7 separate regions of the Homo sapiens genome follow, and regions 1, 2, 3, 5, 6 and 7 are each linked to region 4. Evidence: promoter capture Hi-C in 16 types of primary human blood cells and fetal thymus (Javierre and others, 2016). All regions are on one chromosome and are shown on one strand. The core of a region is centred on a gene start or on the middle of the fragment in contact, and the rest is flanking DNA. Distances in the headings are between cores, read along the strand shown.

The links. Contacts are between HindIII fragments. The CHiCAGO score rates a contact against its expected background, and 5 or more counts as called.
Region 1: a contact is called between a fragment that was not itself captured here and the fragment with the promoter of POLR1F in region 4, in 17 of 17 cell types (naive CD8 T cells, total B cells, non-activated CD4 T cells and 14 more). The highest score is 103.7, in naive CD8 T cells.
Region 2: a contact is called between a fragment that was not itself captured here and the fragment with the promoter of POLR1F in region 4, in 9 of 17 cell types (naive CD4 T cells, total CD4 T cells, activated CD4 T cells and 6 more). The highest score is 9.1, in naive CD4 T cells.
Region 3: a contact is called between a fragment that was not itself captured here and the fragment with the promoter of POLR1F in region 4, in 1 of 17 cell types (monocytes). The highest score is 9.4, in monocytes.
Region 5: a fragment that was not itself captured here is called in contact with the fragment with the promoter of POLR1F in region 4 in 1 of 17 cell types (megakaryocytes); the score reaches 5.7 in megakaryocytes.
Region 6: a contact is called between a fragment that was not itself captured here and the fragment with the promoter of POLR1F in region 4, in 1 of 17 cell types (monocytes). The highest score is 5.0, in monocytes.
Region 7: a fragment that was not itself captured here is called in contact with the fragment with the promoter of POLR1F in region 4 in 6 of 17 cell types (M2 macrophages, M0 macrophages, M1 macrophages and 3 more); the score reaches 20.6 in M2 macrophages.

The regions. Positions count from the first base shown.
Region 1 is chr7:20,597,715-20,600,433 of GRCh38, reverse strand. No RefSeq gene overlaps it. Among named protein-coding and RNA genes, the nearest start is that of ABCB5, 17 kb to the left of the region's middle. The HindIII fragment of the contact is 1,494 bases long and covers 528-2,021 here.
Region 2 is chr7:20,578,659-20,581,358 of GRCh38, reverse strand. No RefSeq gene overlaps it. Among named protein-coding and RNA genes, the nearest start is that of ABCB5, 36 kb to the left of the region's middle. The HindIII fragment of the contact is 2,092 bases long and covers 335-2,426 here.
Region 3 is chr7:20,504,665-20,507,502 of GRCh38, reverse strand. No RefSeq gene overlaps it. Among named protein-coding and RNA genes, the nearest start is that of ABCB5, 110 kb to the left of the region's middle. The HindIII fragment of the contact is 1,050 bases long and covers 914-1,963 here.
Region 4 is chr7:19,707,545-19,710,396 of GRCh38, reverse strand. POLR1F (RNA polymerase I subunit F) reads left to right here and starts at 1,360. Exons shown (of 4, transcript NM_001002926.2): 1 at 1,360-1,634. The coding sequence starts at 1,381. RefSeq lists enhancers at 1,208-1,487, 1,029-1,631, 1,598-1,667, 1,632-2,236. The HindIII fragment of the contact is 8,345 bases long and covers 1-2,852 here.
Region 5 is chr7:20,696,541-20,699,598 of GRCh38, reverse strand. It overlaps ABCB5 (ATP binding cassette subfamily B member 5), which reads right to left. Exons shown (of 28, transcript NM_001163941.2): 17 at 1,049-1,192. Among named protein-coding and RNA genes, the nearest start is that of ABCB5, 82 kb to the right of the region's middle. The HindIII fragment of the contact is 833 bases long and covers 987-1,819 here.
Region 6 is chr7:20,551,017-20,554,080 of GRCh38, reverse strand. No RefSeq gene overlaps it. Among named protein-coding and RNA genes, the nearest start is that of ABCB5, 63 kb to the left of the region's middle. The HindIII fragment of the contact is 945 bases long and covers 949-1,893 here.
Region 7 is chr7:20,646,034-20,649,079 of GRCh38, reverse strand. It overlaps ABCB5 (ATP binding cassette subfamily B member 5), which reads right to left. Exons shown (of 28, transcript NM_001163941.2): 9 at 2,942-3,046; 10 at 1,432-1,545; 11 at 1,002-1,112. Among named protein-coding and RNA genes, the nearest start is that of ABCB5, 32 kb to the right of the region's middle. The HindIII fragment of the contact is 8,939 bases long and covers 1-3,046 here.

The sequences.
Region 1 (2,719 bases), core at 25-2,524, 890 kb before region 4:
TGTTTTCGCCCTTGAGATTTTGGGATGACTAACGCTCCTAATGGCCCCCTGCCCACCGACAATGGAAGAGTGAGAATTAGAGGCAGGTTTCCTGTCCATCTTTCCCCCACCCTCCTGTGGTTTCTGTTACAATACTGAGAAGGAGAGGAAGAAGGTTGAATTTGTCTTAAGTGGGGAGAGGATTATTTGCTCCCACATCAGAGCTGAAACTGGGAGAAGGTGTGTTTTTTATCTACTCACTTAGAATTTAGAATGGAGATCTCAAATTTCTTCCAGCCCAGGAATTCTATTATTCTGTATTCCCAAAGTAACATCACTGTCCATTTTTGCTACCTATACCAGTCCTATTTGTGGAGTTATGTAATTGAAGCCTGTCTTTGGCATTAATCTGTGGGATTGGCTGTGAAATAAACCATTGTATATAATAATACTTAATATAAGAAAAATGTTTGCTACATTCCAAATAATAAGCAAAAAAGTAAACTTTTGAAACAAGCTCTTCCTTTACCTTAGGTTCAGGTAAAGCTTAGAAGGCCAAGATGATGTTTTCTAAGGAAACATTTTATAAGGGTGATTGTGGATTCCCGTGCTGCCCACAGGGAGGCCACACAAATCAGGACTTCACAATATTTTCTTGCGATAATTTGTTTACATATTTATTCCTAGGCCTGTTTTCTCCCTCCACAAAGCCAGGTTCCTTGAGTTAAAAGGGTTACTTTTTCAACTGCTATATATAACAATAATTATAGTCTGCTCCAGTTCTTCTACACCCTTCATTATTATTCAGATTTTGAGGTCTATGGCAGATTAGAATTCCTGGGTCATTTTCAGAGATTTGAGATATTTTCCTCAACCTCATTATTTTCCAGCATAAACATCTGAAATCAGAAGCAACGAGGTAATTTAAATGAAGATCAGAATGAGTTATTGACAATTTCAGATAAAAAAACAGGTTTTTGGTTTTAAAAAATATCAAATTGGAAAGAGGAGGACAATTATTTCCAGTAAAATGTAAAACCATAGGAATAGCTATTATTTATGGGCTACCTACTCCAGGCCGAAATCTTACTATATAGGATTGTATCGAATCCTCCCCAAAGCTGCCCGGTAGGCTGTATATATGTCGCCTTCAATGTTTGGGATGCGAAGATGGCGCCCCAGAGACGTCAGTCTGTCATAACGATCACGTGACTTTATGGGAAGACCTGGCATCCGATCCCAAGTCCCTCAGAAGCCAAAGCCCACAGACTTCCTCTACGCCACACTGACTTTCTCTCATTTGGCTTTCAAGTGCGTTTCTACTCTGGTTATCATATTTATCATCTCAAGTTTCCTACTCAATTACATACTTTCTTTCCAAAATAAATATTTATCCACATAAACCTCTATCTTCACAGGAAGCAGAAAGTTGAAAATCGCATAATCTCCATGAAAATTTCTGGTGATCTTCCTACGGGAAAGGGAAGTTGCGGTTTGCAAGGAGCACAGGCAGGGACCTCTTACCAGTAGTTTGTGGGTCGTTGGACCACAGGAGGATGGGGGAAGCATTTGGGCAGCCAGAACACATAAATCCATATTTGAAATACCTTCATAAGCAGTGTAGTTGGTGGGAATAACTTGGGTTCATTAATTATTCTGTAATATTCTCTTTCTGAATGCCTTGTCCGATTATTAAAGTCAGAAGAAGCTATGCAACCTGTCAGCCACTAGATGTCATTGTTGCTCATGAAATAGAATGGCTCATTCTACAGTGTTTATGTGTAGATCCTTGAATGACTGCTGTCCTCTTCCCTGAAGTTTACCCTTCAACTAAGAGCTATGAGTAATATAGAACATGTGGCTTCTGATAAGAAAAAACTTGTGTCCTTGATAGAAGCACGATAAACCTATCTAAACAGTTACAGAATATCACAAGAGTGTGCATTCATTTATGACCACTTACAAATATGAAGAACAGAGGTAACAAGAGCTCTCAGATCCAGAGAGAGAAATAAATGTAAACTGCACTGGCTGTGGAAGCTTCTAGAGATGTGGGACTCAGGTGCTGTTCTAATGGATGATTAAGACTAGGGTAGGAAGAAAGCAAGATCATTTCAAGAAGGAGGCATGCCATGAGCATTTGTGTGATGGTGGGAAAAAATACTCAATTTGGGTGAAGTAGAAGATTCATTCTGGGAAGAGTAGAGCTGCTGGTGAGGGTGACAGATGGTATAGGAACAGAAAAAACAGAGGAGTGCTTGAATTTACCTTCCATCCTGAATTTGCCTCTGAAAGTTTCTGAGGAGAGTGATGTGATGCAAATTGCACTTTAGGAAGATGAAGTGTCAGCGGTGTATAGATCCAGGAGAAAGGAAGAGTCGTATTAGGGAGAACACATACACTACAGAAAGTGGACAGCCGCTACAGTGTCCAGGTAACAAACTATAGCAGAAGACCAGTAAGGTGAACACAAAAAAATGACTGGGCTACCCTGACATGGCTATCTCTCGTTGAGGAAGACATGCTCCTGAATGGAAGGAATTAAAATATCTGGAGACTTAAACCTTGTGAATGGCCCTTCATTGTTCTCAGGACAAGGGCCCCCCAGGTCATCTAGGGCCACAGGTCCAAGCATCCTGGTGCTATGCCATTTTCTTCTTTCAGTTCCCTGAACTCATCACGCGCCTCCTGCTTCAGGCTCTCGCCTGAGTTGTTCTCTGTCTCCATCCCCTCTTCCTCC
Region 2 (2,700 bases), core at 131-2,630, 870 kb before region 4:
CATACACACACGCAAACATACACTTTCACCCAAGCATTTCATTTATAATTCCTAGAAAGTGTATCTACCTTAGAAAGCATTGATTCCTAGCATTTCGGGGTCATTCACTTTTTTTTTTTATAATTTTATAAAAGTTAAGGACTCTAGCTCCAAAACTGAACACTCACACACTCACACAATTTTGAATACATTTTTATTGATTCAAATGCAGCTATGTATCTAGGATACCCTTCTAGCAGCCATAATCAAACCATTTTCATCTTACTTTTTGGCCTTGCGTACATTTTGACTTTATGTTAACTGACGTATCTTTGTATCTGTTTTGCTACAAGCTTCAGTGCCAGGGATATCTTTTATCAGTAATGCTGAGAAATGTTCATTTTTCCAGGAAGGTCACTGGGGCCTCCCCCTGCTTGGCACTTATTGCTCCGTATTCTCCTTGCCAATTCAAATGCCGGTCTCTCCTTCTAAACCCTGAACCTCTCAAGGGCAGAGACAAGGTCTCGTTTAGAGGAGTGCAGCCTCCAAGATCATGTCTGGTTTTAATGGCCCCTAAATAATTACTTACTGGATTTTGTGCAAAGTGTTATTCTCATTAAACACTTATGAAGATATGTGAAGTTCAGTGATTTGCCCAGAATCAAACAGTGAATAAGTGGTGTAGTGCATATTACTCTCAAGACAGCTGACTTTCAGTCCAAAGATATTTCCCATACATTACCTGTCAAGGATTAAAAAAAAAAAATAGCTGCAGTGCAAGTCACTACCAATATGTGAACTCTTGTCAGAGGTAAGGTCTCAGTAGCTTGGGGCTGACCCAGAGAATGGAGCATGACTGTTCAGAGCCTCATGATACGGGTCTCAAAGAAGAAAAGAAAGGAAATCTTGAGGTAGAGAGAGGCTTCCAGAGAGCAAGACAATATATATCTTAGGGAAACTCTGTTATAGTCATCAAAATGATGGCACATTTTAGGATTTGTAGAATATTGATTCAAAAAGTGCTTTAATCTCCTTAAAAATGAAAATATTTAAGGATGTGTGATTTTCGGGGGGATACTGTAAGAAACATTCTTGCAACCTAGGATATCAGATTGCAAGCCCGGTTAACTAGTTAACTGGTTGACTGCAGTTCAATATTATTATTGGCTCATGCCTTCCTATCCACTTTTCCCTCCCAGCTGCCAATTTCTACAAAAGAAATCTCATTAATGTCTTTTGTTCATGACATGTCTGTGTTGTTTCTGTAACTCTTTTTGTAGAAAAATAATCTGTTATTTCTTGTTTTATAAGTGAAAAATTTGGATGTTTGTGAAAATATAAGATGAACTTTACTGACGGCTTAGTCATTATCAACTTCTTAATCAACTTGATTAACTTAGAAGGTGACTTTATGGTGAATGGCACAGAAGACCTAAAGTGTCTGGTTTAATAGCTGAAACAACCCTTTGAGTCGCTGATTTATTTTTTCACTTTATTCCAATTCAATTTTTATAATATAGGCTTCCTGAAATTTGCCACATCTCTGAAAGTAGAAAACAAGTCAATAGAAGACGTTTCTAAGAAAAGCCAGCAACCAGAGTGAGCACAATCAATTTGAACATGTTAACTATAAGTTCATACTCAAAGAGTGAACTCATATTTAGTGTGGACAACTTCTAAATGGGAAAGATTGAGGGGATATGTTCAGAGAATAGCCTAACTTTTAGAGAAATTGCAGCCATTTTCTGTTTTGGTGGATACATGAAATATTCAGGAAAGTTATGCTTCTGTTGACTTTGATTGAAAAATAGGTTACAGGGTCTTTTTAGTTTTCTTGGATGATTCATTTTGAAATCTGGCATTAAGACAGCATTAAGAAAATACTGTGGAAAGAGAATCTCACAACATCTAGCCCTAAGGCATTTGAAAATCTTCTCTTTATCCTTTTATGTTAATTTCTTAATTTTTTAAAAAGTCAAGGGCTGATAGTAAATATTCATCCCCCCAAAACAGCATTTGTGAATATTCATCCCCAACAAACAGCATTTGTGAAATATCTCTTATGTATAAGTATGTTCATAGCATGGACTCATGAATAAATTTGTATTTAGGGTTGAACTAAGCCATAGATAATGCAAGTATTTTGGGGGAAGACACCCTTATTAAGGTATGTCACAAGATTTCTTATTGAGAGGCCCATCTCATGCCACCCTCTTCCAATTACCTGAGATTGACACTGTTGCCTTCCTAAAGAAGATACCACCTATTGTTAATGGGTGTAGGAGGTTGCAATGCTCTGTGTGTATGCATGCACGTGCACGCATGCACGCACACACACATACACACGCACTTATTAAGATACCTACAGCAAAGGAAAAAAGGGAAAAAGAAATCACGTGTTATCAAAGACTTAAAGTCATTTCAAGGATGTGTCAAGGTGCTAAGCTTGGCCCAAAATTAACATTTTTTTTTTTGTTTCTTGGAAGGGTGAAAAATTAAGCCATGAGTTTCTATTAGCTGAAGAGCACAACTGGTTTGCAAGACTAGATGACCAATACCAGGTCAGATGAGGGCACTGATGAAAAAGAACACAGAACAGGTAAGTTTATTTATTTATTTATTTTTGGCGAGACCTGGGAGAAGCTGAATGAGAAAGGGTATACATGGCAGCCCAGATTTTACATCTCTGCATGGTGATCGAAGGTTAGAATGAAGGAACAG
Region 3 (2,838 bases), core at 189-2,688, 800 kb before region 4:
ATTTTGAACTTTTTTCTGGTGTGGTATATATTTCTGTAGTGTTCTATGTATACAGGAGATTTTTAACAAAAGATGTGACTTGTATTTAACATCTTACTCATTTCCTGGCTGTTACAAGGATAGATTGAATGATTACTTCTTGTAAAGTCACAGTATAGCATTATGCTTGCCAGGTGGGTATTTTCAAGGGCAGGGCTGTGATTAAATGTACTTTAGTTGTTCTTATTGTGACTTTCTGAATTCTTCATCATTGTGTTATGTACCTCCAGATCTAGTAGGTAGCAGAGGACCTTTGGGGAAAAAAGCCATTCCGATTCATCTCTTACCACCAAATATCCCCATGCCTCACCTACTCCAGAAGAATATTTGTACCTACAAATCAGCTGAAGAAAGGGAGGGCTGCAAGTTTCATCCACTCCATGGCTTCCACTTCCAACGCGCACACACACACACACTTACACCCCACACATGCTAATGACTTCTCGGTCTTTTTTCCCAGTCCTTTTTTCCCAGCCTTCTCTTTGGCTCCAGATCCACATTCCAAGTGCCTTTTTCCGTCCTCTCCTAAAATCACACCTGTTAAACTTCTCATATTTTTAACAGATCACCACCTATCTAGTTTCCCAAACCAAAAATGTTCATTTTAAACTTAAATTCTCTCTCATTCTGTATCTAACCAGCCATCATATCTTTTCAACTCTTAACTACAAAATATTTCATTAACCTCACTTCAACATTTTCTCCTCATTTTTATTCCACTGGGTCAGGTCTGAAAACTCCACTAATGCAATTTTCTGTGGTCTTTCTCTCCCTTTTTTTTTTTAATCTTCAAAACTATCTGTTTTCTGGGCCACCTACGAAGATAAGATTTATATCACTTTGTTGCTCAATAATACTGATTGTACCTTAAGCTTCTCTTTGTTCACTCTTTAGTTTTGTATAATAAGTTCTTTAAAGTATGAACTATCTGAACTCTTTCTAATACTCTATTTATCCAAACATATCACCCGCTATCTCATATCTTACCCCAAAACCCTATGTTCTAGGTTTTAGATGTTATCAATTATCCCTTGCTTCCTGTGACCTTGTTTCATGATGGAAGCTCTAAGGAGTCCTTTGAAAACTTGCATTTCTGTCCTTATCTGCAAGGCCATTTAATGACTCATTCTTCGCATAGGCCAGACCCCATCTTACCCCATTCACCATTTGGCCTTTCAAGAAATAGTGTTAGGGAGAATTGCACTGAAAATACTTGTATTTTGATGTACTTCATTTCCAAGGGGATGTGTTCAATCATTTTTTCAATATCCTCTTGGCCTTTATTGAATACCTACTATGTGCCAGACACTGAATATAGAGATACAGTCCTCTTCATAAAAGTACATAGTCTAGTAGAAGGAATGGATACATTAAAAAATGTAGGAATTAATTATATCCTACCTTCAGTCTAAGTGAATATGTAGTTGTGAATGTCTAGCAAATGAGAAGGGCTGGCTTCTCATAAGAAAGTGAAAATGTGGACCACTTCTCATTTTTCAGCCACTTTTAAATTATTAAGTAAGGGAAATAATATTTCAGGAGTTTCTTTTGGTTAAAGCCCTTACATTTTCGAAACACTTAAAAAAATTTTATATATCATGTTCATAAATAGTTTGTGAAGTTCGCAAAACAAGTCCAAAATTATAAGTGAGATCTAATGAATATGAGTTTTACAGCTTTTATTTTTCCCCTCGGTGTTTCATGCCATAAGTGCTACTGAACAATTAAAATGTTGACCAAAACAAAAGGATAAGAAGCAACAAATTTTTTCACTGGGCCACAAATAGAGGAATCTCTGCTTTATTGCTGAGACAGACTTATAAACAGTGTATATAATTAGCTATTTTGCACATTCACGTGTGTATGCATCAGATGTTCTAGTATGTTTATAAAAATACCTAGTTCAATTATGTTTTTCAAAGCTTAATTAATTCTCTTGGGGTTTATGTCTAAAAATACTGCCCAGTTCTGTCTACAACCATTTGCTTGTTATACCACAGACTAATTTTTATACTATTATTACAACTTGGACTGGCAGCTTGGGGCTAAATGTGCCCATATATATTTGTTTTCTACTAATCTTTTTAAAATTTATTTTTTGAGATACTTTTATCAGCCAGAACCATGATTTCAGTATGGCTCAATTAAAATCTAAATGTGCATTCTAGTTAAAAGTTGCTTATAATTTTTCGGTGTTCAGTTTGTGATTTCAAATTTACTCTTAATGGATAATCAATCCAAGGGCTGGAAGAGACTTTATGGGGTCACTTGGTTCCCCTATTGCCTGAGACGTGTAAAAGCCTGACTTATCTAAGTAGACACTCTCATTTAAATTTCCCTGAAGGTAAAAAAGGCCACAGCCTTGCCTAGGTGAACTACTTAATTACTGTTGTAGTCGATATGGTGTTCTTTTTTAGGTGTATTCAACCTACATTATCCTATTGTTGCAAATTAAGCCAAATTCCTTTTCAATTTTTGGCAGATATTCACTGGGCACTATCTTTCATCAACTTGCAGGCATTAATATAGTGGTCTTCTATTTGCAAGATTAAAAAAAAGAAAGAAAACAAAACCAAAACTTCAGTACCCCTTTCTTACAGAATCCATATTTTTATTTATTTTCTTGGTGCCCTTTTCATTTCTCCATAATTTAAGATGCTAAAAGAGACCAGGTGTGGTGGCTCACACCTGTAATCCCAGCATTTTGGGAGGCCGAGGTGGGCAGATCACTTGAGGTCAGGAGTTAGAGACCAGCCTGGCCAACATGGTGAAACCCTGTCTCTACTAAAAATACAAAAA
Region 4 (2,852 bases), core at 111-2,610:
GCATAACCTGTTATATGTTTATGTTTAGATCCCACTTCCACTTAGGCTGTGAGCTCTTTATCACTTATTATTTATTAACTCACTATCAGGTTATTCATTCAAGATGTATTGGTTGGGTTTTTCTTGGTTTCGTTTCTTTGGAGGAGGGATAAATTGTGGGGGGCTACTGTAGTGAACAATACAGATATTATGGTCCCCACTTTAGTGAGTGTAGGAATCTATTGATGGAACAGGCAAGCAAAGACAGTTAATAAAAAATTAACATAAAAACCAACATAGATGGGTAACTACCTAATCCTTATAGAGAAAGAGGAGTGGGGTGCTTGAAAACTCTTTGCAAAGGTATAGAATGTAAAATCTAAGCTAGAAATTCATACATGAGTAGAATTTACCCTTGTGAAAAATGCTATTATATTCCCTGGTGGAAGGAACAGCGTGAGACTGCACAAAGAGAGACCTGAAAGTAGATCAAGCAGCATGATAATATTAGGGTGGGGAGTGTGACAAATGAAGCTGAAGAGAGAGGCTGTGTGCCCACGCAGATCACAAAATGGCCTTGTAACTTATAAGCCATTTTCATGAGTTTGTGTTGTCCTAGAGAAAATGGGGTGCCTATGTAGGGCTTAAACAGGGCACAACACGATCATATGTATTTCAGGGAAGATCTGGCTGCCCCAGAGTGTCCTCCTGACCATTGAGCTAGGCTTCCACAGGCAGGGAGTCCTGCGGTTTTGGCGGCAGGGAAAGAGAATAGTGTCCAAATAGAATGATATTTCCACTTTGGGCAATACAGGTCTTCAGGCTGATTTGATACTTGGGGATACAAAAGAGGATCCGAGGCTGACAGCTTGGCTGTATGATTCCCTGATTTAGCAGTTGCATAATGAGAAGAGAAGCGGGACAGGAGAGAACTAGTGGGTTCGTTTTCAGATGCGTTGCATTACAATTATCAGGCCTGCTTAGGATTCCGTGTACTGCATAAAATATACTCCATAAATATTTTGATTTTTTATTGTACAGTCCAAGCCTGTAAAATTCTACCAAACCCACCTCACTACTGGAAATGATCAAAGTGAGAACCCCCATTTTTAAGCTACCTACTTAATCCAATAAGCCTCTGTGCGAAAACACACATTTGCCTGCCCTTAAAAGAGCAGTCGGTTGGCTTTCCTGCGTGCTCAATGCATTTCCGAGGCTCTAAGCTCCCGTTCTCGAAGCGCGAAAACGCGGTTCCCCCTGCTGGTCAGGGCTGCGTAATGCAGCGAAAAGAGGGGAAATTCCTAGGGGCGTGGTCGTTGGTGGATGGCGTAAAACGAGCGCCGGGGACATGGGATTGTGCTTGCGTCAACGGCGCGCGCCGTGGGAACCTTGACAAGCAGCATGGCTGCAGGTTGCTCAGAGGCGCCGCGGCCAGCGGCGGCTTCTGATGGGTCTCTGGTAGGGCAGGCTGGCGTCCTGCCTTGCCTAGAGTTGCCGACTTATGCCGCTGCTTGTGCGCTGGTGAACAGTCGCTACTCATGCCTGGTGGCCGGGCCGCACCAAAGGCACATCGCGCTGTCGCCCCGCTACCTTAACAGGAAACGCACCGGCATTCGAGAACAGCTTGATGCGGAGCTCCTTCGCTATTCTGAGAGGTACCGATCTCTTTGCCTGTTCCTTCTTTTGTGCACGGGAAGTAAAGCAGGTGGATGTGCTGACGACGCAGCAGAAAGGGGCAAATGGCAAAGGTCGCATTGCCCCCCAGAGCTTAGCCCCCTGGATTTCTAGAGTCGCGATCCGTCCCTCAAGGCCAGTACCGCTCTGGTAAAGATCTATACAGGGTCCCTTTCATAGATAGAGAAGAAAACTTAAAGATGAAGTTCAGGTGTGGGCGGAGGGAGTGGAGATTCTTGCTCCAGAACCCTGGTGTAGGGGTAGGAAAAGACCAGGGATCTGGAGACCTAGTAGGCCCAGTTCTGTTTGGCATTCAACGTTTCATTTATCCCCTTACGGATGATGCTTTCTCATTTGACGATAAAAATCTGGTTTGCAGTGCTTGAGTAGATTCTCATTCCATAGAAGATAGCATACGAAGCATTAGTACAACCGTTCTATTTGTAAAACATGAAGGACCTTTTTTGTTGTTGGATTTCGCTCTGGTAATTTCCCCATTTTCTCTTCTCTTGGACCTGATCTGGGGATTATGAAAATGCCATTAGTTTAGCGGGATTTTGTTGTTTTTAAGAAGATTTATTCAGTCGAACTAGTGAGCCTGTTGCTTTGGGGAGAGAAAAAACCAAAACGTATGCATTTATATTACGGTATTCAAAAGTGACTTGAAAACTTAGAATTACAGAGGTGTGGGGCGGGGGGCGCGGGCATGTGCTTGAGTATTCCTCTGGACTATACTTTGGTTTAAAAGCGGGGTTCTAAAACTAGAGGGAATGGATTCTCTAGGGATTCATGATTGCCCTTCAGGAATTCCTATGTGAAGTTCCTTGGGCACTGCATCGGAAGTTTTTATCAGTTTCTTAAGGGATCCTGGACCTCCACCCATGTCTAGAATCTGCAGATTCTTCCAAGCACCAATATACACTTCTTGTATGTTTATATTACATACCGAACACTTGAGATACAAAAACAAAAAATAAAATCTCTGTTTCAAGGAGCTTTAAGCTGTAGGAGAGATACAAATACAAGCCAATAAATAGTAAAGTGTTAAAATTTGACAGAAATCTAATAAGATAAGGAGTGTAGAATTTGGATCTTGGGACCTTTGAGAACAACTTGATTGAAGAGGGTACTTTAACATGGTAACATTCCAGGCAAAGAGAGTGGCATAAACAAACGGATACTGGATGTGAACTGGTATG
Region 5 (3,058 bases), core at 154-2,653, 990 kb before region 4:
CTCCCGAGTAGCTGGGATTACAGGCGCGCACCACCACACCCGGCTAATTTTTATGTTTTTAATAGAGATGGGGTTTCACTATACTGGGCAGGCTGGTCTCAAGCTCTTGACCTCAAGTGATCCGGCTGCCTCCGCCTCCCAAAGTGCTGGGATTACAGGCGTGAGCCATTGCACCCAGCTTAAAATAAATTTCAACATAAAAATAAAACTATACACACATTTCTGTGGGAAAAAGTGCACCATGATGCTATCATCTGCATACATTATCTATGATAAAAAATAACTTGCTTTTAATTCTCAAACTATGTAAATATGAGATCTGAATAATGAGTCATCTATCTGCTATTATTATCACAGTATATTTCCCAAGAAACCACCAGTTTGCTTGAATTATTATTTTGAATAATTTTTGATCACTCAAGTTTCTTAGTAGTCTTCTAGTTAAGTAGTACCTGCAAGGTGAGGCTTTTTAATGTGCCCCCAGAATTTTTCTTAAAAATTAGTAACATACATACACAGGCATTTATACTGATAAAGTATAGCTGTGCAAATTAGGGAGACTGAAGTTCCAGGCTAGAACTTTAGTTAACATTGAAGAGTAAGCATGGATCTTGTAAGATCCTTAAACACACCAATTGCCCTGAGTCCTTTAGCAAAATCCCAGACTCTTGTTATTTCTTCTCCCTGAGCTGGCTGGTAAGAAAAGAAATTGCAACTATACCCACTAATTGAAAGGAAAGTAGTTGTATTTGCCTATTTTATTTCTTCAGTGTTTTGGAATGCTGATCCAGCACTGGAGTAAAAATTAGAAAACAAAGCAATTTCTTCACTGATTGCCCAGTCAACAAGGCCCGGCCACACACTTTACAAGAGATGCTGGCTTATCTCCTGGGAACATTAATTAACCTTCCTATCACGGACTCCACACTAGGGGCGGCCCACTAAAAGTCCCAATTTTCCCCTTGTGGTTTAGACTGATACAAGCTTGTTCTCTCAGGTCATACTTTCTTTAAATTGCTGAAAGTATTAGCAAATTTATTTTACTTACGGTTATAATTTTTGCAAAGATGATGGAAAATACTGGATGAACAGTTCCATTTAGAACAGAAGCCAATGTCCCCAGAACCACAAAAGGCCATTCAGGCTTGTTTAACTTTAAAATTTTTAATAGAGAGACTTCAGGAAGACTTATCTAAAAATAAAATATGTTGGTTAAAAATGCCAGTTTGTGTGCATAACAGAATCTAGTGAAGTTAGCCCATCATAAACAGAATTATAATGTATAACATCAAACATAACAGACAGCAGGGTAGAAAATATTTTTCTTAAAAAATTCACTGCCCGTATTATTAACGATGACCCTAAAGCATAAAATAAAAGAAGATTTGCCACAAGTGACTATTTGTGCAATATCACTTTTTGGCATTTCACTCAGTTGCTATTATTTAAAAAGTACAGTTAACTCACATGTAATTGTTAAGGGTCACAAAAGAAATGGCAGGTGTATTTTTCTTTACTCTTGTTAAACTGGATGGAATATTGTACTACAGGATAAGAAAAAAATCTAGGCAGAAGCTAAGAAAAGAAAATGTGGAAGGTAAAAGTTTCATTACGATCTCAAACTTGAAAGTTGGAAAGTTTCAAGATGTATTTACAAAAACATTTTCCTAATACCTTGGCTTGTTTTGGAGTTCTTATTTACAAGCAAAATATTGCAATATCCGAGCACATTATTTAAACTCACCAAGACTGTCTCCTCATTTTTCCAAGGGGAGTGGTATCAGTTCCTATCTTGTAGGATTGTTTATACAATTAAGCTTTATTCAGTACATTTGCAACTCACTGTATTTGCAAACAATAAACACCCAATAAATGCTAGCAGTCATTGCTGTTTCTGATGTTATTACAGAGGAAGGATTATGTTACACAAAATTTCAGGTTTTATACAGAGAAAGCACAATGCAAGTAGTCATTCTGGGTCTGCCAGCCCTTCCTAGGAGACGTGGAAGGTGACAAGGGGAGGTAGTGGTCACAGTGGTCAGAGGATAAATAATACGATAACGATCTCTCTTGGCTCTTGTCTGCAATAAGTAGTGTATTTCAGAATCTTAAAAATTCTTCTGAACAGCTTTGTGGTGAGTAATTATTCTGAGTAGGAAAGTAGACAGTGAATTCTTTGGTATTTCATTCATTAAAACTTCCTCATGGCATTCACTCTTAAAATAATGACATTTATGGACCTAATAACCAGAGAATTCTTCAAGTAAGACTATAAAATAGTTTATAATTCTCGTTCTATTCTCAGTGTGGCCACTATAATGCGGACTGTTGTTTGGACAACAGAACTTTGAAATTCTGATGCCTTTAAAGTCCATTTTCAGGGTGGCTAACCCACATTTATATTGGATTACTTAATAATTTGATTGTATCCATCATTTTTCCTGCTGAAGTTTTCTAAAGCTCATCATCAAAAAGGGCACAACATTTCAGCTAGGTCACTGTTCAAAAGAATGTACAAAAATTTAAAAAGTTGCACGCTAACTATCAGGCACTGAGCATGAAACTAAGTGCATTACAAAATTACCTTATTTGGTAAGGAGATTAAGGTTTAACATGTGCCAGGACACCAGTAAATTACAGAGCCAGGAAATTAGGAGGGCTATCTTCCTCCTATAGAACGATCTACATTACATAGGTAATTTAAAGATGTTCTTTTGCCTCTGGGAAAATACACAATAAAAGATTTAAAATGGTATCATTTAAATAGTGTTGTCAAGATAGAAAAGAAGTAAATAAGATAAAAACAAAACAAAAATTTCAGTAAAATCATAAAATAGGCTGTGTTACTTAAATATGAGACAGGTTGTACATGCGTTAAAATAATCTCATACAAAAACATAAAATTATAGACATAAAGAGATATGACGAGTATTAAAAAGTTAAAAAGTGATATCTAAAATATTCTAAATTTCATTTGATACAGCTTAGAGCTTTCTTGAGTTATAGTTTTCATATAACAAAGTGCACATATTTGAAATGTAAAATTTGATAAATTTGA
Region 6 (3,064 bases), core at 172-2,671, 840 kb before region 4:
TATTATGTATGAATGACGTAAAAGAGACTGGGAAAGGTTAAGATCTCTCTTTTGATATCTTTCCCATATTAGAGTTGGAATTCAAAAGCAAGTTGTCAGATTCTGGTACATAACGCTGATGAATACTTTGATGGAATTAATACAAACTTAAGCTGTTTTGGAGTCCAAAAGCAGTAGAACATCTTTCACTGTATTTTCCCTCCCTAAATGGTGACCTAGAAAAGTTGTCAACATTTATGATATTATACTTTTGGAAACAAAATATAAAGATCTTCAATCTGTAGAAAAATACACAGTAGAAGCATAATAATCTAGATTAGAAATTATTTTTTTTTATGAGTCAGAAAACAAATAGTTGACATGAGTTTACTCAAAATGGCAGGTACTTTTGGTGAAAAGAACTGGTCAGTGCAGCTTAAGCAGTTCGGGAAGCAGGGAACTCACCTTGTTTTATTTATATTGTTTGCTTGTAAGCTACTCTAGTTTGTAGTGAAGTCAGCTCCTACTCCTTATGCTTTTTTTTTTTTTTTTTTTTTGAGACGGATTCTCACTCTGTCACCAGGCTGGAGTGCAGTGGCATGATCTTGGCTCACCACAACCTCTGCCTCCCAGGTTCAAACGATTCTCCTGCCTCAGCCCCCAGAGTAGCTGGGACTACAGGCACGTGCCACCACGCCCAGCTAATTTTTCTATTTTTAGTAGAGATGGGGTTTCACCACGTTGCCCAGGATGGTCTCGATCTCTTGACCTCGTGATCCACCCACCTCGGCCTCCCAAAGTGTTGGGATGACAGGTCTGTGCCACCGTGCCTGGCCTGTGATACAACCAGAGAATGTAGCACTTATGGTTCATTCTTCTCAGTAAGTGCCCTCAATTCTGCTCCATGCAAATAGACATCAAATTAATGTTAAAGGTAGCTGTTCCCTTCATAAGAGATGCAGTAAAGCTTTTAAACAACAGAAAATAAAGGATGTCTCTGACTTTTATTGGATCTGTAATGGTTTTCTATTGTGTGTAAAAACTAGAAGTGTCCAGTAGCTGTTGGCATGTTTTCAAAGACTCTAACCCAAAGAGATTTAGATTTTTTTTCTAATTGACCATTCTTTTTATAACTTTGACTTGGGGATCAAATATCACAATTAAAGATGTGAGTGGTTGGATGAGTTGGGCAGGAAGGGTGTAGATTGGGCTGTTGTGAGGTGGTATGGCTTTGGGATGCTTTATCCAATACAGTATGTTTTATTTTGACACGAAAGAGAATTGCTGGTAACAGCATCAGCAGATAATACAATTTAAGAAAGATTTTTAAAAAAATTAAAACTTGGCCTAATTATGCTAAAAGATAAAGCTAAGAATGAGCCAAGGATTAAGATTTATGTACTGTATTACATTTCTTCTCTTTCCCACATTATTTATGGGAATATAATGCAGAAATGAGGTATCACCATTTGGTTTGGTTTTGACATTTTGCTGTTTTACTTTATTTAAAATTTCTTATCTACAGGATGAACATTATATTTCATTATTTGCCAAGCCCAATTAAATTGCTATCTTTATCTGTAACTTAGCTAAAGGTACTTTTCTTAACAACAAAATGAGTTTAATAAAAATATATATAATGTAATAACACAAAATGAATAGAAAACTTCTTTATATAGCCACACAGGTGTAGTAAATGGTTATAAATGTTGTTTGCATAATTCCCAACTATTAGTTTTTTTAAAAAAGTGATATTTAAATGCAAGAAAAAATCTATTTAAGTCAGAAATATATAAGAACAAATTTCTTATTAAATTTTTAAAAACTGATAAATTACACACACAATTTTTTTAGGGGAGGGCCTAGATACCTCTTTAAAAATTACCTTTTAAATTTTGAATTAGTAGAAAAGCTTTTAAATATGTATGCAATTTTAAAGTGCAATAGCAATTGCAATGGAAAATTCCTTAGATATAAATACTTACTGGGCATATATGCTTTATAAAGTTGTATAGCTTACATGTAGTATAATATAGTTGCGAGGTAATCAGTAGATATACTCTTTTTTAGTAACACAAGAGATTTCATTTTATATATGAATAAGTTTTTTAGTGACTGAAATTCTGAAAGTTTAAATAGAAATAAAAATTTTATCCAAGCAAATAAATAAGAAACTGAGATTTTCAATATTTGGCACTTATAGAGCTATGTTCATCTCAGTAGCATTGTAATTAGGTCACACTTTAGAGTCATGTTTGTTTGACTAGAATGTTCTAACTTGATTAAAAGAATTAATTAAACATTGTATTTATGCATTTACAAAGTCAAATATTGTCAATTTTTTCTGAAAGCTGGTAGAATTTCCTGTTCCACAAGTCTTCTGTTCAAGGAAGTGGCTATTTTCACTGGCATCCGTGTGAAGAGACCACCAAACAGGCTTTGTGTGAGCAACAAGGCTGTTTATTTCACCTGGGTGCAGGCGGGCTGAGTCCGAAAAGAGAGTCAGCGAAGGGAGATAGGGGTAGGGCCGTTTTATCAGATTTGGGTAGGTAAAGGAAAATTATAGTCAAAGGGGGGTTGTTCTCTGGTGGGCATGAGTGGGGGTCACAAGGTGCTCAGTAGGGGAGCTTTTGAGCCAGGAAGAGCCAGGAGAAGGAATTTCTCAAGATAATGTCATCAGTTAAGGCAGGAACAGGCCATTTTCATTTCTTTTGTGGTGGAATGTCATCAGTTAAGGCAGGAACCGGCCATCTGGATGTGTATGTGCAGGTCACAGGGGATATGATGGCTTAGCTTGGGCTCAGAGGCCTGACATTCCTGTCTTCTTATACTCATAAGAAAAATAAAATGAAATAGTGGTAAAGTGTTGGGACGGCGAAAATTTTTGGGGTGGTATGGAGAGATAATGGGCGATGTTTCTCAGGGCTGCTTCCAGCGGGATTGGGGCGGTGTGGGAACCTAGAGTGGGAGAGATTAAATTGAAGGAAGATTTTGTGGCAAGGGGTGATATTGTGGGACTGTTAGAAGAAACATTTGTCATTTAGAATTATTGGTGATGGCCTGGATATGGTTTTGTATGAATTGA
Region 7 (3,046 bases), core at 547-3,046, 940 kb before region 4:
CAAAAAGGGTTATGTTTCAAAAGTTCATTTTAAAAATAGTTGTTTAAAACCCAAAGAACACTTTCCCATGCAATATAATGGCACAATTGGTGCTGAAGTCCCTAGGAAGCCAATCCAAATACAGTTGCAAAATGTAGTTTGAAATACTGTACAGTTAAGAAAAATGGTGGAAGTCAATACTATACCAATAATGGTAATCGGTAATTAAGTAACAACTTTCAAAACTAAAGAGCTTTGAAAAGAGAATTTCGATCAAAGTTTTAATCAGAAAAAAAATAAGGAAGTAGGAGTAGGTAGGTCTTTATACAAATTCTGTAGCAGACATTAGAAATTGATCACACTAGTAATTTTATCTATTTCACTTAAAATCATGTCTTTTTCTATGAAGCCAGTGTTTTATTAGTAATCGCCTTGTGCAATCTTTAACAACAACTACTTTTTTGGTAAATACACTAATGAAGTGAAAGGGGGAAGACAATAAAAAAGACACACATTTTCACAAGAACTTGTCAAAGACTGAATGATGGAGTACGATAAACTGCGTGTGTGTGTGCGTGTGTGTAAAGGCGATAAAGTACTAGCCGCAATTGCTGCTGCAGTAAAAGCCCCAGGAAAGGAAGAAGGGAAAGGCACATGTGCATAATTCTCCTAGGTTAGAGAGGAGGGGGTTAAAATGAGTATGTTGAGTGGGGTAGCATCTAGGAACCACCAACAGGTGGCAGCGTCAACCCAAGACATTTAGGTGTGTTCCCAAACCCAGAGTAGAAGAATTTCACGGAGCTGAAAATGCTTTAGTCAGTTGAATATAGAAAGAATGCTGCAAAATATAACTAGTTGATCCAGAGTTATTTGTCCATTATTTATCTACCTCCTCAAGTCTCTAAGCAAAGTAGCCAAAATCTTGGAAAAAAGTGATCCTAAGTAATCATGTCAGAGAAGATCTTGGCCAGTAGAAGATAATATCAGAAAACTGCACAATTGCGTAATTTGTTTTAACCTACCTTGATAGATGGTCTTGATGGATAATTGAAAGAAACATTTTTAAATTCCACAGTTCCTTCTATGGATTCAGGTTTATATCCAGCTGTGGAAAAGTTATCTATACTGGGTTTCTTGGAAAAACAAAGGAAATGTTATAAATCTTCAAAGGAGTAAACTGACAGTCTCTACATTTTAAAAATAGTATAAGGATGGTTTTCTTCCATGACAGTTTCCTTTCTGCTTTAGAAGTGCATTGAGTTAGACATGAAGGTTTCAATACAACACAATCTCCTCTTAGAAAAGAATTAAAGGCAGTCTCTCTTTCCCATAAACAACTGGCCAACATTAAATTTGTCCATCCTATTGTTTTAGTGAAAATGAGGGTGTATGTTTTTTTGTCTCCTTCTTGCAGTAATGATAGTTATTCTTCAAAGCAATAAGAGGTCTTACCTTATCAATAACCTGGAAAATATGAAAGGCAGCTCCTCGGGCTATTGCGAAGGTTTCAAAGTGAGGGACTGCTGCTCCAATGCAATAACTGCTATGGATTACACTAAAGAAAACCTACAGGAACAAACAAAGTGATATTTATCTTTCTGCAGTTATATAAGAAAGACAATAGAATGTAATATATAATTATTGGTTTAGGCTCACAGAGAGATATTAGAGGAATTAGGTAAGAAAGAATGGAAGATATGACCAAATAAAAAAGAACACAGATTACACTTGATCTTAGCCAAAAGGCCGAGAAGCAATAGAAACACAGATTAATCCAAGTATCCTTGGCCTTTTCCTAATAAGGAACAACTTTTGATTATCTCATAGTCTTGTGGTTATCACATGCTGGGATGTGTGACCAGAAAAATCTGCTAACTGAAGTGTGCTGACCATGTATAAACCCCATGGTGAGTTGCACTCCCCTCCTTGTTGGGTGACCCCTTGAACTTTAAAAAGAAAAATTCAGTAGATTTTATTGGCTCAGAGACATTGTACTGTTTTCACTCAAACCGTTTTTGAATTTTTGTATTAGGGGACAGCTGTCCATTTTAAGACAGACTCATCTCTGCAAAAAGTCAAATAAGAAAAGAATCCCTCAAGCTAGGAGCTCTTACTCCTATCATATAGATGAGGATGCTTAGGCTTAGTAAGCCAGATACCCAGCCACACATAAATTGAGGAGCAAGGATGAGTGAAAAATCGTTCATGCTCACATTTCACTTTATATGAAATAAATGAATAGCTAAAAGTCTTAATTATGAATGCCTCAAATTCAAAAGATGAATTTAATGGAAAGAAGAGAAATCTGTAAGAATGGAAAGGCCAAACAAGGATCAAAGTATAAAGAGCAGATCATTTTGGTTCCTCAAGACAAATGTTTCTTAATCCTGAACTGATCTGTTTATTGTAACTTAAGAGGATAACTGAATAAATTATTATTTAACACATAACCCATAAGAATTTAAAAGTCTCCAAACTGTGATACTGGACAGAGCTATATGTAGTCTGTTTTTTAAATTACTACATGCTGAAAGGACAGAGGAAGAGGAGGTGAGTGTAAACTCTACAGACCATTTCCAGAGAGAAGACATTTAGCAAGGTGAATGCAGAACTCCGTCTGATCTCAGCCCAGATGAAAGGAAAAGTCTCACAAGAGAATGGCCTTTTTCACTGCTAGATTAACAAAACTCAGTGTATTTCCCAGTGGGGAATTCAATTATGATTCTTCCAAAAGCGGAATGCAGATGCTTGACACAGCGAGGACACTAAAACATGCTGGATGAATAAATGCTGTCAATTCATAACTATAATTTAAAGGTGTATACAGATAATTTGAGGGAAACAAATATTTGTTTAATAAAAACATCCATCTTTGAATATTTATCTTCAAAGAGGAATTTTGGCTAAACTAGGTAAGGAAAGATTATCCAGGCCTGACACCTTGTTCTCAAACAAGACTTACAGCAAGAACAGTCCCGATGGTATATCCAGGTTCTCCATTAAGAATCAAGGAGGTTCCATACCAAAAAGCAAGTCCATAGGTTCCATTCATAAAGAAGTACACAGC